3 separate regions of the Homo sapiens genome follow, and regions 1 and 3 are each linked to region 2. The links are contacts of gene promoters, found by promoter capture Hi-C in blood cells and fetal thymus (Javierre and others, 2016). All regions are on one chromosome and are shown on one strand. Each heading gives the region's core, a stretch centred on a gene start or on the middle of the fragment in contact. The rest is flanking DNA. Distances are from core to core; before and after follow the strand shown.

Evidence for each region. Contacts are between HindIII fragments. The CHiCAGO score rates a contact against its expected background, and 5 or more counts as called.
Region 1: a contact is called between a fragment that was not itself captured here and the fragment with the promoter of GPR148 in region 2, in 4 of 17 cell types (non-activated CD4 T cells, total CD8 T cells, naive CD8 T cells and 1 more). The highest score is 5.7, in non-activated CD4 T cells.
Region 3: a fragment that was not itself captured here is called in contact with the fragment with the promoter of GPR148 in region 2 in 1 of 17 cell types (naive CD4 T cells); the score reaches 6.1 in naive CD4 T cells.

What each region holds. Positions count from the first base shown.
Region 1 is chr2:130,931,407-130,935,553 of GRCh38, reverse strand. All of the region lies in intron 3 of ARHGEF4 (Rho guanine nucleotide exchange factor 4), which reads right to left. Among named protein-coding and RNA genes, the nearest start is that of ARHGEF4-AS1, 96 kb to the right of the region's middle. The HindIII fragment of the contact is 307 bases long and covers 1,538-1,844 here.
Region 2 is chr2:130,727,572-130,731,634 of GRCh38, reverse strand. It overlaps GPR148 (G protein-coupled receptor 148), which reads right to left and starts at 2,565. Exons shown (of 1, transcript NM_207364.2): 1 at 1,299-2,565. The coding sequence starts at 2,483. The coding sequence ends at 1,440. RefSeq lists enhancers at 2,836-3,414, 3,415-3,994 and a silencer at 3,763-3,932. The HindIII fragment of the contact is 6,760 bases long and covers 1-3,367 here.
Region 3 is chr2:130,908,146-130,911,820 of GRCh38, reverse strand. The region is part of intron 1 of ARHGEF4 (Rho guanine nucleotide exchange factor 4); the gene reads right to left. Among named protein-coding and RNA genes, the nearest start is that of ARHGEF4-AS1, 73 kb to the right of the region's middle. The HindIII fragment of the contact is 6,101 bases long and covers 1-3,675 here.

The DNA of each region.
Region 1 (4,147 bases), core at 442-2,941, 200 kb before region 2:
CTTATGGATGCAGTGAACGCTATGCTGAGAGGGAACTTTCTAGTTGTAAAAGCCTAAATTAAAAAAGAATTTCTCAAATCAATAGTCCAATTTTACATTTTTAGTCTAATTTAACAAGAAAAAGAAGCACAAACTAACCCCAAAGCTAATAGATGGAAGAAAATAATAAAGATGAAAGTAGAGACACATTAAATATAGTAATAGAAAAACAATAGAGGCCAGGTGCAGTGGCTCATGCCTGTAATCCCAGCACTTTGGGAGGCTGAGGTGGGCAAACCACTTGAGCCCAGGAGTTGGAGACCAGCCTGGGCAACATGGTGAAACCCTGTTTCTACCAAAAATACCAAATACCAGTCCCATAACTCAGTCTCTAAATAAATAAATAAATGAATAAATAGATAAAAAATTAAAAATGGGATAAAAATAAGAAAAATAATAGAGAAAATCAAGACAACCAAAAACAGATTCTATGAAAAGACTAATAAAATTGATAAGCATTTAGCTACACTGAGGAAAAAAAGAGAGAAAATACAAATTACTAAAATTAGAAATGAGAGTGGAGGCATTACTACTGATGTTACAGAAATTTAAAAGGATTATAAGAAAACACTATGGACAATTGTATATCAACAGATTAGATAATGTAGATAAAATGGAGAAATTCTTAAGAAAAACACAAGCCAAATGACTCAATAAGAAATACAAACTTTGGCCGGGTACAGTGGCTCATGCCTGTTATCCCAGCACTTTGGGAGGCTGAGGCGGGCAGATCACTTGAAGTCAAGAGTTCGAGACCAGCCTGGCCAACATGGTGAAACCCTGTCTCTATCAAAAAATACAAAAATTAACCATGCATGGCAGTGCATGCCTGGAGTCCCAGGTACTCAGGAGGCTGAAGCAGGAGAATCACCTGAACCCAGGAGGTGGAGGTTGCAGTGAGTCAAGATCATGCTGCTGCACTCTAGCCTGGGTAACAGAGTGAGACTCCATCTCAAAACAAAACAAAACAAGAAGAAATATAAACTCTTAACAGGTCTATGACAAGTAAAGAATTGTTTTTTCACCAACCTGACACTAAAAGAAAAGAAAAAAGAATTGAATCAGTAATCAGAAACCCCACAACAAAGAAAAGCCCAGGACCAGAAAGCTTCACTGGTGAACTATACAAGATATTTAAAGAAGAATCTTTCTCAAATGCTTTCAAAAAATAGAAGAGGAGAGAGCACTTCCTAACTCATTCTATAAGACCAGAATCACTCTGATACCAAAGCCAGAGAAAAACATCACAAGAAAAGAAAACTGCAGATGAATACATATTCAATGTAATATACCACATTAATAGGTCAAAGAAAACATGCATGATTATCTCAGTTGATGCAGAAAAACCGTCATCAAAATTGATCATGCACTTAAAAAATCCAGCACCCTTTCATGATAAAAACACTAGAAATAGAAACGAACTTCCTTAACATGATAAAACGGCATTTGTGAAAAACACACAGCTAACATCATACACAATAGTGAAAGACTGAAAGCTTTAATCCTAAAACCAAGAAGACAACGACACCCCATTTCACCACTTCTGCTCAACATTGTTATGTAAGTTCTACCCAGAGCAAGTAAGGGATAAAAGAGAAATCAAAGGCATCTAAACTGGAATGGAAGAAGTAAAGTAATCTATTTTTATAAATGATGTAATCTTATACATAGAAATTTCCAAAGAATCCACAAAAATATTATTATAGCTAATAAATGAATTCAGCAACGTTTCAGGATATAGGATCAATAAACAAAAATCAATTGTATTTTTATGCTCTAGCAATGGATAATCCCAAAATGAAGCTTTTAAAAATTTCCATTTATGATGTCATCAAAAAGAACAAAATACTTAGGAAACATTTTAACCAAGGATGTGCAAGACTTTTTACAGTGAAAACTACAAAACACTGCTGAAAGCAATTCAAGAACACCTCCCAAAAACGGAAAGACACCCAGTGTTCATGGATTTGAAGACTTAATATTATTAATATGGCACTACTCTCCCAAGTGATCTACAGATCGAATGCAATCCTATGGAAATCCCAAGGGCCTTTATTTTTTTGCAGAATTGGAAATTATAAGATTCATATGAAATTGCAAGGTCCAACAAAAAGCCAAAACAATTTTGAAAAAGAACAAAGAAGACTCTCACATTCCAATTTCAAAACTTATTATAAAACTATGATAATCAAAACAATGTGGTACTGACATAAAGACAGACATATAAGTTAATAGGATAGAATTGAGAGTCAAAAATACACCCACACATCTAAGGTAATTTGACTTTTTTTTTTTTTTTTGAGACAGGGTCTCACTCTGTCACCCAGGCTGGAGTGCAGTGGTGCAGTCTTGGCTCACTGTGACCTCTGCCTCCCAGGTTCAAGTGATTCTCCCACCTCAACCTCCCGAGTAGCTGGGAGTACAGGTGCGTGCTACCACACTGGCTAATTTTTGTATTTTTAGTAGAAACAGGGTTTCACCATGTTGTCCAGGCTGACGTCGAACTTCTGGCCTTAAGTGATCCACCGCCTCGGCTTCCCCAAGTGCTGGGATTACAGATGTGAGCCATTGCGCCTGGCGGGTAAGTTGGTTTTTGACAAGGATGCCAAGACCATTCAGTAAGGGACAGAATAGTCTCTTCAACACATGGTGTTTGGGTAACTACATATCCGCATGGAAAATATTAAAATTGGACCTCTATCTCATACCATACAAAAATTAAATCAAAATGGATCAAAGACCTAAATTTAAAAGCGAAAGGTATAAAACTCTTAGAAAAAAACAGAGGTAAATTTCATTACTTGGATTTGGCAATAGATTCTTAGGTATGACATCAAATGCACAAGCAACAAAAAAAAATAGATAAAGTAGATTTCATCAAAATTAAGTACTTATGCATCAATGGGTACTATCAAAAAAGTGAAAGGCACTCTACAGATGGGAGAAAATATTTGCAAATGACATATCTTATAATGGTCTTACATTCAGAATATGTAAAGGATTCCAGGCCAGGCGCGGTGGCTCATGCCTGTAATCCCAGCACTTTGGGAGGCCAAGGCCAGTGGATCACTTGAGGCCAGGAGTTCGAGACCAGCCTGGCCAACATGGTGAAACTCCATCTTTACTAAAAATACAAAAATTAGGTGGGCATGGTGGCAGGCACCTGTAATCCCAGCTACTCAGAAATGGATGAAGAGCTACTCAGGAATGGATGTATGGATGAACAAAGTGAGACAAGTACTGTATAATCACATAACGAAATGTTACTTAGCCATACAAAGAAATGAAGTATTGATATGTGCTATGACATGGATAAAACACGACGCTAAGTGAAAAACGCCAGTCACAAAAGGTCACGTATCATGTAATTACATTTATATGAAAAATCCAGAATAGGAAGACCCATAGAGACAGGAAGCAGATGAGTATTTCCAGGGTCTGGGGAGGGGAAATGGGGAATAGGGTTTCCTTTAGGGGTGATGAAAATGCCTTGGAGCTGGACAGAGGTGGTGGTCGCAAAATATAGTGAATGAATATACTAAATGCCAATGAATTCTTCACTTTAACATGGTTAATTCTACATTATGTGAATTTCACCTCAGTTTTAAAAAGTGAGTCTTCAAGGATGAGGTGAGACTCAGAGATGTGTACTTCACAAACACTTGATATTAAATATTGCTATTTATAAAGGGAAAAAACAAGAAACTCTTGTCAGAGATTGGGTAAATGGCATGATGTCTACACCATTAATTTACTTTTTAGTAGGCTGTCGGTTTCATGCAAAAAATCATGTTGTCAAAGTGTCCTAGAGACAAAATTGAATGGACAACATAATGACTTTAGTTAATTTGGTTAAGATTGTCTTATTGAAATGTTCTGTGCCTCTGTGAGTGGCAGAGCCAATGCTAGGGCAGTGTCTAATCATGTCGGGCACACAGCAGGCACTCATTAAATGGCAGTCTTCTCTGCACTACTACCTTGCATGGAGCTGGCCACAGGCAGAGACATACTACAGAGAAGGAAGAGGGGGCCCTGGCTTCTGTGGCTCTGGGGAATGCACTGCTCAAAGTGTCTCTCTTGCAGGCCCTCGACTGCAGTACTGAGTGTG
Region 2 (4,063 bases), core at 1,316-3,815:
CTGCCTGCTTTAAATATCTTGTCTTTGTATTTAGCTGTTTGCAGTTTCGCATCATGTGCTTCAACGTGGGTTATTGGTCATTTATCTTATTTATGATTGGTTAGATTTCTCGGATCTGAAGTTTGATATCTTTAAACAAATCTGAAAAAATCCTCAGCTGTTATCGCTTCAAATATTTCCCCTCCTACATTTTCTGTATTGTGTTCCCAAATTAAATGTATGTTAGTCTTTTCCATCCCAACCTCAATGTCTCTTAATCTCTCTTTTATATGGTTGTCTCTTTGTCCCTCTGGGCTGCATTTTAGGTAATTTATCTGGACCTCTCTCACAATTTGCAGAGTCTGTTTCCAGTTGTGTCTAACATGCTCTTTAATCCATATTAAATTCAACTCATAATTCTAATATTTTTGTTTCAAGAAGTTCTATTTAAATATTTTCCAAATTTTCTTGGTTATTTAAAAAAAAGTATTATCCCTGCTCATATTTTCATGTCATTATTAATGTCTTAAAACATCTTGAACATTTTTATATTAACCCAGTGTTGATAATTCAAGGAGCTGTGGTATGACGCTGCTGTCTTCTTGTTTCTTCTTGCTCTCATTCATGGTGCCTTATCTCCCTATGTGGTTTTGTGAGATTTGACCATGTGCAACTCCATTATTTGAGGTTCTTTGACTCTGGAAATTCTCTGCAGCCTAAGGTGAAGCTCAGATCGTCCAGGAGAACCACACCAACCACAGACTGAGGTCTTTTTACCACTAACATAATTTGAAGCCTAGCTCTAAAACTGTCTGAAGAGTGGCTTCTACTTAAGAATTCTCGAGGAATTTTCTTCTTCTACACAGCACGAAAGTCAAGGCAGGCAAACTCCCTTGCTGACCCCTTCTGTAAGGTTAGGTTATCATTTACCTTTATTGTGAGAGTGTAACCCTTGCACACTCCAGCTTTATAGTGGTATCTCCATGACACTCTCCACTGCTGTGGATCGTTGGCTTCCTTTCCTCCCTCCCACATCCTGAGCGGCTGCTCAGATAGAGCTCATGGTCCCAGGACTCAGCAGCTCTGCTTGCTTACCTCTGTGGTTCTCACTGTCAGCAACATTTTGGCTTCTGTGTGTTGGTCAGCAAGGATGCATCCACAGTGGCCAGGGAGGGTGTGCAGCAAGCCATTGGAGGGACGCAGATCAAGGCTTGACTTAGACCAGAGCCCTGCTTGATTGCCTTTACTTGCTTCCGTTTCCAAGTAGGATTTCAGTGTCATAAGAGAGCTTTCTCTACTTAAAAACTGTCAAAATGGTGAAAATCATCAGTTGAGGTCTTCTGAAAGGCCCAATTCCACTATTATATTGTGCTGTTCTAAGAAGTTAGTCATAAGTGGACACTGCTGCATTCAACATATGATTTTTAACCTCAGCTTGCCAGACTGTGGACTCAAGAACTCTAGGAAATGGTAAAGATGGCCTGGTGCCTCCTGGATGGGAGGTGGCCCCGGACCATGCCCAACAGCTGCCGGTAGCGGAGCAGGTACAGGTATGTGAGCATGGCACGGGGAAGCATCATGAGTACCTCACTGTTAGCTGCCAGGAGCCATGTGTGAGTCCCAGAGTCAATGTGGTGGTACCTGGTCAGCACCATGTCCAGGGAGAACACCACCCCTGTGCTCACGTACAATGTGATCAGCACTGAGTGGATCAGCAGGGTGCCCCTGGCCCGGGAATAGCCCTGCCCCCAGATGCCTGAAGTCTTGGCCTCTGCATAGATCCTCCAGAAACAGTTGGCAATGAGAGCTGTGCAGAGGAACAGAACGCACAGAATGGAGGTGTAGGTAACAATGACCAGGAGGCCACATCCCGGCTGGGTGCCCATGCTTGGTGGTAGGATGTATGAAGCTCCTTGCTCCTCCAGCTGGGCATCCTGCCACTTGCTGAGCCAAATAAGGAATGTGGGGAAGCAGCAGGCCACCAGCCAGATGAGGGCCACTGCCTTCCAGGCAGCCCCATGGGACATGAAGGAGAGGTAGCGCAGTGGATGGATGACTGCCAGGTAGGTGTGCAGCACAATGGCGGTGAAGGACAGGATGGTGCTGGTGCAGGCGGCGAAGACAGCATCAGTGAGAATGCCACAGGCCATGCGGCCCAGCTCCCAGCCACCCAGGCTGCTGGAGGAGATGAGCATGTGGAGGAGAATGTAGGCCAGGTCTGAGAGCAGGATGTTAGCCGGGAGCAGGTAGTGGGGCTCCTGTCGCAGCCGTTGGTTCCGCAGGATGGTCACCAGCAGCAGGGGGCTGACAGCCAGTGTGGCTGCAGCCAGCAGGCTTGAGGGAAGGAAAAGCCAGTACAGCATGGAGCTGGGCACCCTGAGGTCCCCCAGGCCCAAGGAAGTGTTGCTGGCTGCTTGGGGCATGCAGGGTGTCTTGCTGATGAGCTGGATCAGGGCCGGCCAAGCTGTAGTGCCCACAGGGCAAGGTGCCAGCTCATCCCCCATGCTTCCTGGCAGGGATGGCTGGCTTTGTCACAGGTTGTTGATTCTGCACCTGCCTTGAGTGTTGATCTGCCCCACAGGGGTCCTGATGGCACCACTCCTCTGTAGAGATGCCAGGCTCGGGCAGGCCTTAGGAATGACTGCTTAATAAAGATAAAAAAACCAATGTGAATTCAGACTCACACCTGGCTTCCTGCATTCACATCTCTGCAACTGTGCAGCTGCATGTGCGTGGGTAGACATAACAGATCATCCCACTGCCACCATTTTGCAGTCACTGACCCCTCCAGAAGTGTCCCCTATCTCAGTGGCCCCCAAACCTGTCTGCTTGGCTCACAGGGAGTGTGCAATGGATTCTCACCACACTGGATTATATTCCGGGCTGCCCTCCTAGAAAGGAAGGAGCAGCTGTCTGGAACTAGGATCGCTGGGCTGTAGACCTGGTCTGACCTCTGTCGAGCTAGAGGCTCAGCAAATTGGACCAGGCTGGAGGGGCCTGGGCGCACTCACATTTCCTCACAGAGCCTTGGGTATGGTCTCCAGCTCAGGGTGACCCTGTGCATGCGTGTGAGTGTGACTCCTACACCCCTTCCACTCAGGGCTCCATGTGAGTATTCGGTGCCCCCAAAATCTCAGCTGACTTGTGGGGTCGCTGTGTGGTAGAAACGTCCCTTCCTCTGGGGAGGAGGAGGCCTGGCAGGCAGAGACCTCATAGGAGCTAGTGGGGAGGAATGGAAGGCAGGTTCCCCAGGCACCTGGCTTGTCGGGGGTGGGGTGAGCTCAGTCAGAGCCAGTGGCCAGGGTGGCTGTTGGTGTTTGGGGATCCAGTTCAAGTGAACAAGCTCTCCCGCTCTCTCGAGGTGTTGGCTGCGTGGCCTTGAAAAGCTTTGTTCCAGTTTCCTTATCTGTGAAACACGAATGCCAACCACACTGACCTCAGGGAAACGTTGCGGAAGCCCAGAGGTAAGGGACTCAGCACAGTGCATAGCCTGAAGTAAATGCTGAGTCAATGTTAGCTCTCCCACCTACAGCATCCTCCGAGGCTCGGTCCCCTCTGCCCACAGATCCCTGTCATCACTGCAGAACGGGCTGCACTTGGCTGCTGGCAGCCTGAGACCCCTGCCCAACACCCACCGCCGGCCTGGCAGACTGCTCCAGAAGGCAGGAGCCGCGTGGGAACAGGCAGGATATTTTTAGGGCCAGGAAGAGGCAGAAATTTCAGACTCTGGGTGTGAGACCACGTCCACTGCTGCCCAGGGACCATGCTCGTCACAGCCCGAGACCACGTCCACCGCAGCCCAGGGACCACGCCCAGAACCGCCCCTGACCACGTCCGCCGCAGCCCGGGGACCACGCCCGCCGCAGCCCGGGGCCACGCCCACCACAGCCCCGGACCACCATCATCGCAGCCCTGGGACCACGCCCTCCATAGCCCAAGGCCACGCCCATCACAGCCAAAGACCACGCCCAGAACAGCCCCGGACCACGCCCGCCGCAGCCCGGAACCGCGTCCTCCTCTGAGAGCCTGTTACGCAGCTGCCAGGAGCAGCAGCGCCTGCGCCTTTTTGGCCGATTACGGTACA
Region 3 (3,675 bases), core at 999-3,498, 180 kb before region 2:
CTGCCCAGGGCACTACCTGTGAGGCAGGGGCTGGCGTCTTGCTGGGGGGAGGGGTCCAGCCTTTGTCTGAGTTCCAGGTTATTTTGGCAAGAGGCCTCCCTCAGTCTCAATGAAAACAAAAGCCTTTGGGGGAAAAAAAATCTAAGATGACTCTTCCAGGTAACAAAGCTGGTGTAGTCTGCGCAGCTGCACTGGAAGAGCAGGTTTGACTGATTGCAGTGTACAGATACTGAAATTCAATGAGTACATCAAAAACAACATTTGATTTGATTGAATATTGGATTCTAATCTTATAAAGACTTTCTTCCTGAGTTGATTCAGGAGCGATCCCCAAATAATTTCTCAGCATAAAGTGATGTAAGTCCAGGGTTATGTCCTGGGAATGGCCTGGGGCTGGAATCTAGACCAAACAAGTATTCTTTCTGCGGAGGCTCAGGGTTTTTACAGGGGTGGGAGTGGGTTAAATTTGAAAGTCTGAAGCAGGCAGGCTCCATTTTGCCACAGGCCTGGCACTTCCCAACTGTCTTATTCTATAACTAGATGAGGCTTTAGGGCAAGATGCTGAGCCTGTCTCCTGTAAGAAACAGCTGCAGTGAGTGTTCCACAGCAGGGTGAACTGCTGACTACCAGCCCATCAGGAGGGGAGGATGGTGTTGACCGGCAGGCCCCACATCCCACCTCCTCCTCCTGACCTCACCGCTTCCCTGCCCGCTGCCCCGACGTTGGCCGAAACCTTCAGTGGAGCTAGCCTCTCCCCACCTCTCCTCTGCCCTCTGCAAACTCCTCAATAACACAGTTTACATTTAATATGCACACTTTCCTATGTGTCATTCACTTTTTAGAGAATATTAGTATGTGAGGACACAGTGTCCCTTCTAAAAACCACTAGTTTTAATCTGTGGTATGTCCATTATCTTGGCAATCCTAATTTTTAAAATAAGCTCATTATAATTTCCTTTTTGACCTGTGACTTATTAGAAGTATGTGTTAGTTATCTGTTTCTGATTTCTATTTAATGACACTGTCATCAAAGAGTCATCTGTGTGATACTGATTTTTTGAAGTTAGTTGAAACTGGCTTTATGACATAGTACAAGGTCCTACTTTGGAGATGTCCCATGGGCGTTTGAAAGGATAGTGCATTCTCTAATGGGTCGGTGCAGTGTTAACAAGGGCTCATTAGATCAGCCTTGTTGACTGTTTAAATCCTCGGAAGTCTTACTAGTTTTTCCTCTGTGATTAGGAGAAGCATGTGGAAACCTCCCACTGTCCTAGTGGATTTGTCAGTTTCCTCTTTTAATTCTGTTACAGTTCAGCCTTATGTGAGCAGGTGCATAAACAAGTTCAGAACTGTTACATCTTCCTATGAGTGGCTCCTTTATTACCAGTGGTAATAAAGGCTTTTTTACTTTCTTATCCCTAAGAAAGACTTTTCCTTTAAAGGCCATCCTCTGATATTAATATACCCACACCAGCATTCTTTTGGTTAGTATTTGCCAACCATGTATTTTTTCCATCCTTTTATTTTCAATCTTTCAATGTTCTTTAGGTGTGCTTTTCATAACCAACATATAGCTGGACTTTCCAAATTGAATCTTTCAGGCACTTTTTTTTATTATTATACCTTAAGTTCTGGGGTACATGTGCAGAATGTGCAGGTTTGTTACATAGGTAATTACGTACCATGGTGGTTTGCTGCACCCATCAACCCGTCACCTACATTAGGTATTTCTCCTAATGCTATCCCTCCCCTAACCCCACCCCCAGACAGGCCCTGCTTTCAGTCACTTTTAACCAGCGTGTGGCTCATGAGTGTTTCTGTGATCACTGCTCTCTCTGGGGTTCTACCTCCCACTGAATTCCATACTTTTTGAACTCTTCCTTCTTTTTTTGTCCTGGGAATTTCTTTTGTGTGTGTGAACTCAACTAAAGATTGTTTAGGATGATATGTTTTACTTCTAGGTTTAGCTTTTGTTATGAGGAGCTTTTCGGGAAATGTGTAGTGGGCCGTGATTCTGGAATCAGAAGTTCTGGACACTGCTCCCAGGGTCTGGCTGCCACCCCGCCCAGCCCTGAATCAGCCAGCAGAGGCGCCTGTGACACTGCCAAATGCAAGGGTCTTTGTTTTATTTTCTTTGTATTACTGCTATTTACTTTTTTTTTTTACAACTTTATTGATGTATAATTGTCATAAAAAAGCCACACATATTTCAAGTGTACAGTCAAAGTTTTGACACACATCTGTGAAACCATGACCACCATCAATATGATGACCGTTGATCTCTTTCCCTTCTGCCTCTCCTCACTCCTCCCTCAACACCCTCTCCTTCCCCAGGCAACCTTTATCTGCTTTTTGCCTTTTCTAGAATTTCATATAAATGGAACCATGCGGTATGTCTTCTTTTTATCTGGTCTTTCCCACTTAGCATGATTATTTTGAAATGCACCCATGTTTTGTTGCATGTGACAGGAATTCATTCCTTCTATTGCTGACCCGTGTTCCACAGTGCAGCTATAAGGCAATTTGTTATCTATTCACCTGCTGATGGACATTTGGGTTGTTCCCAGTTTCCGGCTTCTCACATAAAGCTGCAGTGAACATCCATGTACAGGTCTTTATATGGACATGTGCTTTCATTTGTCCTGGATAAATACCGAGGAGTGGGATGACGCTGTATCAGATACACAGGGTAGGGGCATGCGTTCAACTGCTCAAGAACCTGCTCTCCATTCCCTTCCTCACTCCCCACAATGTATGAGGTCCTGCTGCTCCACAACCTCCCCAGCACCTGGTACCACCAGCCTTGTTCATGTTAATCCTCCCAGTGTCTGTGAAGCGGTATCTCCTTGCAATCTGGATTTGTGTTTCCCTCAGGGCATATGATGTTGAGCATCTTCTCATGTTTTTTCCATCTGTACATCTTTTCTGGTGACGTGTCTTCAAGTCTTTTGCCCATGTTTAAAAACTGGATTGTGTTCTTACTATTGAGTTGTAAGGATTCTTTGTATACCTTATATATAAGTCTTTTGTCAGATATATGTTTTCCAAACAGTTTCTTCCAGTCTGTGGCTTGCCTTTTCATTTTATTACCAAGGCCTTTTAAAGAGTAAAACTTTTTTTTTTAAATTTTATTATTACTATTTTTTTAGATGGAGCTCGCACTGTCGCCTGGGCTGGAGTGCAATGGCGCAATCTCAGCTCACTCCAACGTCCACCTCCCGGGTTCAAGTGATTCTCCTGCCTCAGCCTCCCAAGTAGCTGGGATGACAGGCTCCCGCCACCATGCCCAGCTAATTTTTCATATTTCTAGTAGAGACAAGGTTTCACTATGTTGGCCAGGCTGGTCTTGAACTCCTGACCTCGTGATCCACCCGCCTCGGCCTCCCAAAGTGCTGGGATTACAGGCGTGAGCCACCACGCCTGGCCAGAAGACATGGTTCTTATGCCTAGAAAAATCCCACAGTCTCTGCCCAAAGGCTCTTAGAACTGATAAACAACTTCAGCAAAGTTTCAGGATGCAAAATCAATGTAGAAAAACCAGTAGCATTTCTATACACTGACAATGTCTAAACTGAGAGTCAAGTCAATAATGTGATCCCTTTCAAAACACCACAAAAAGAATATAATATCTAGGAATACAGCTAACCTGGGAGCCAAAAGATCTCTACAGTGAGA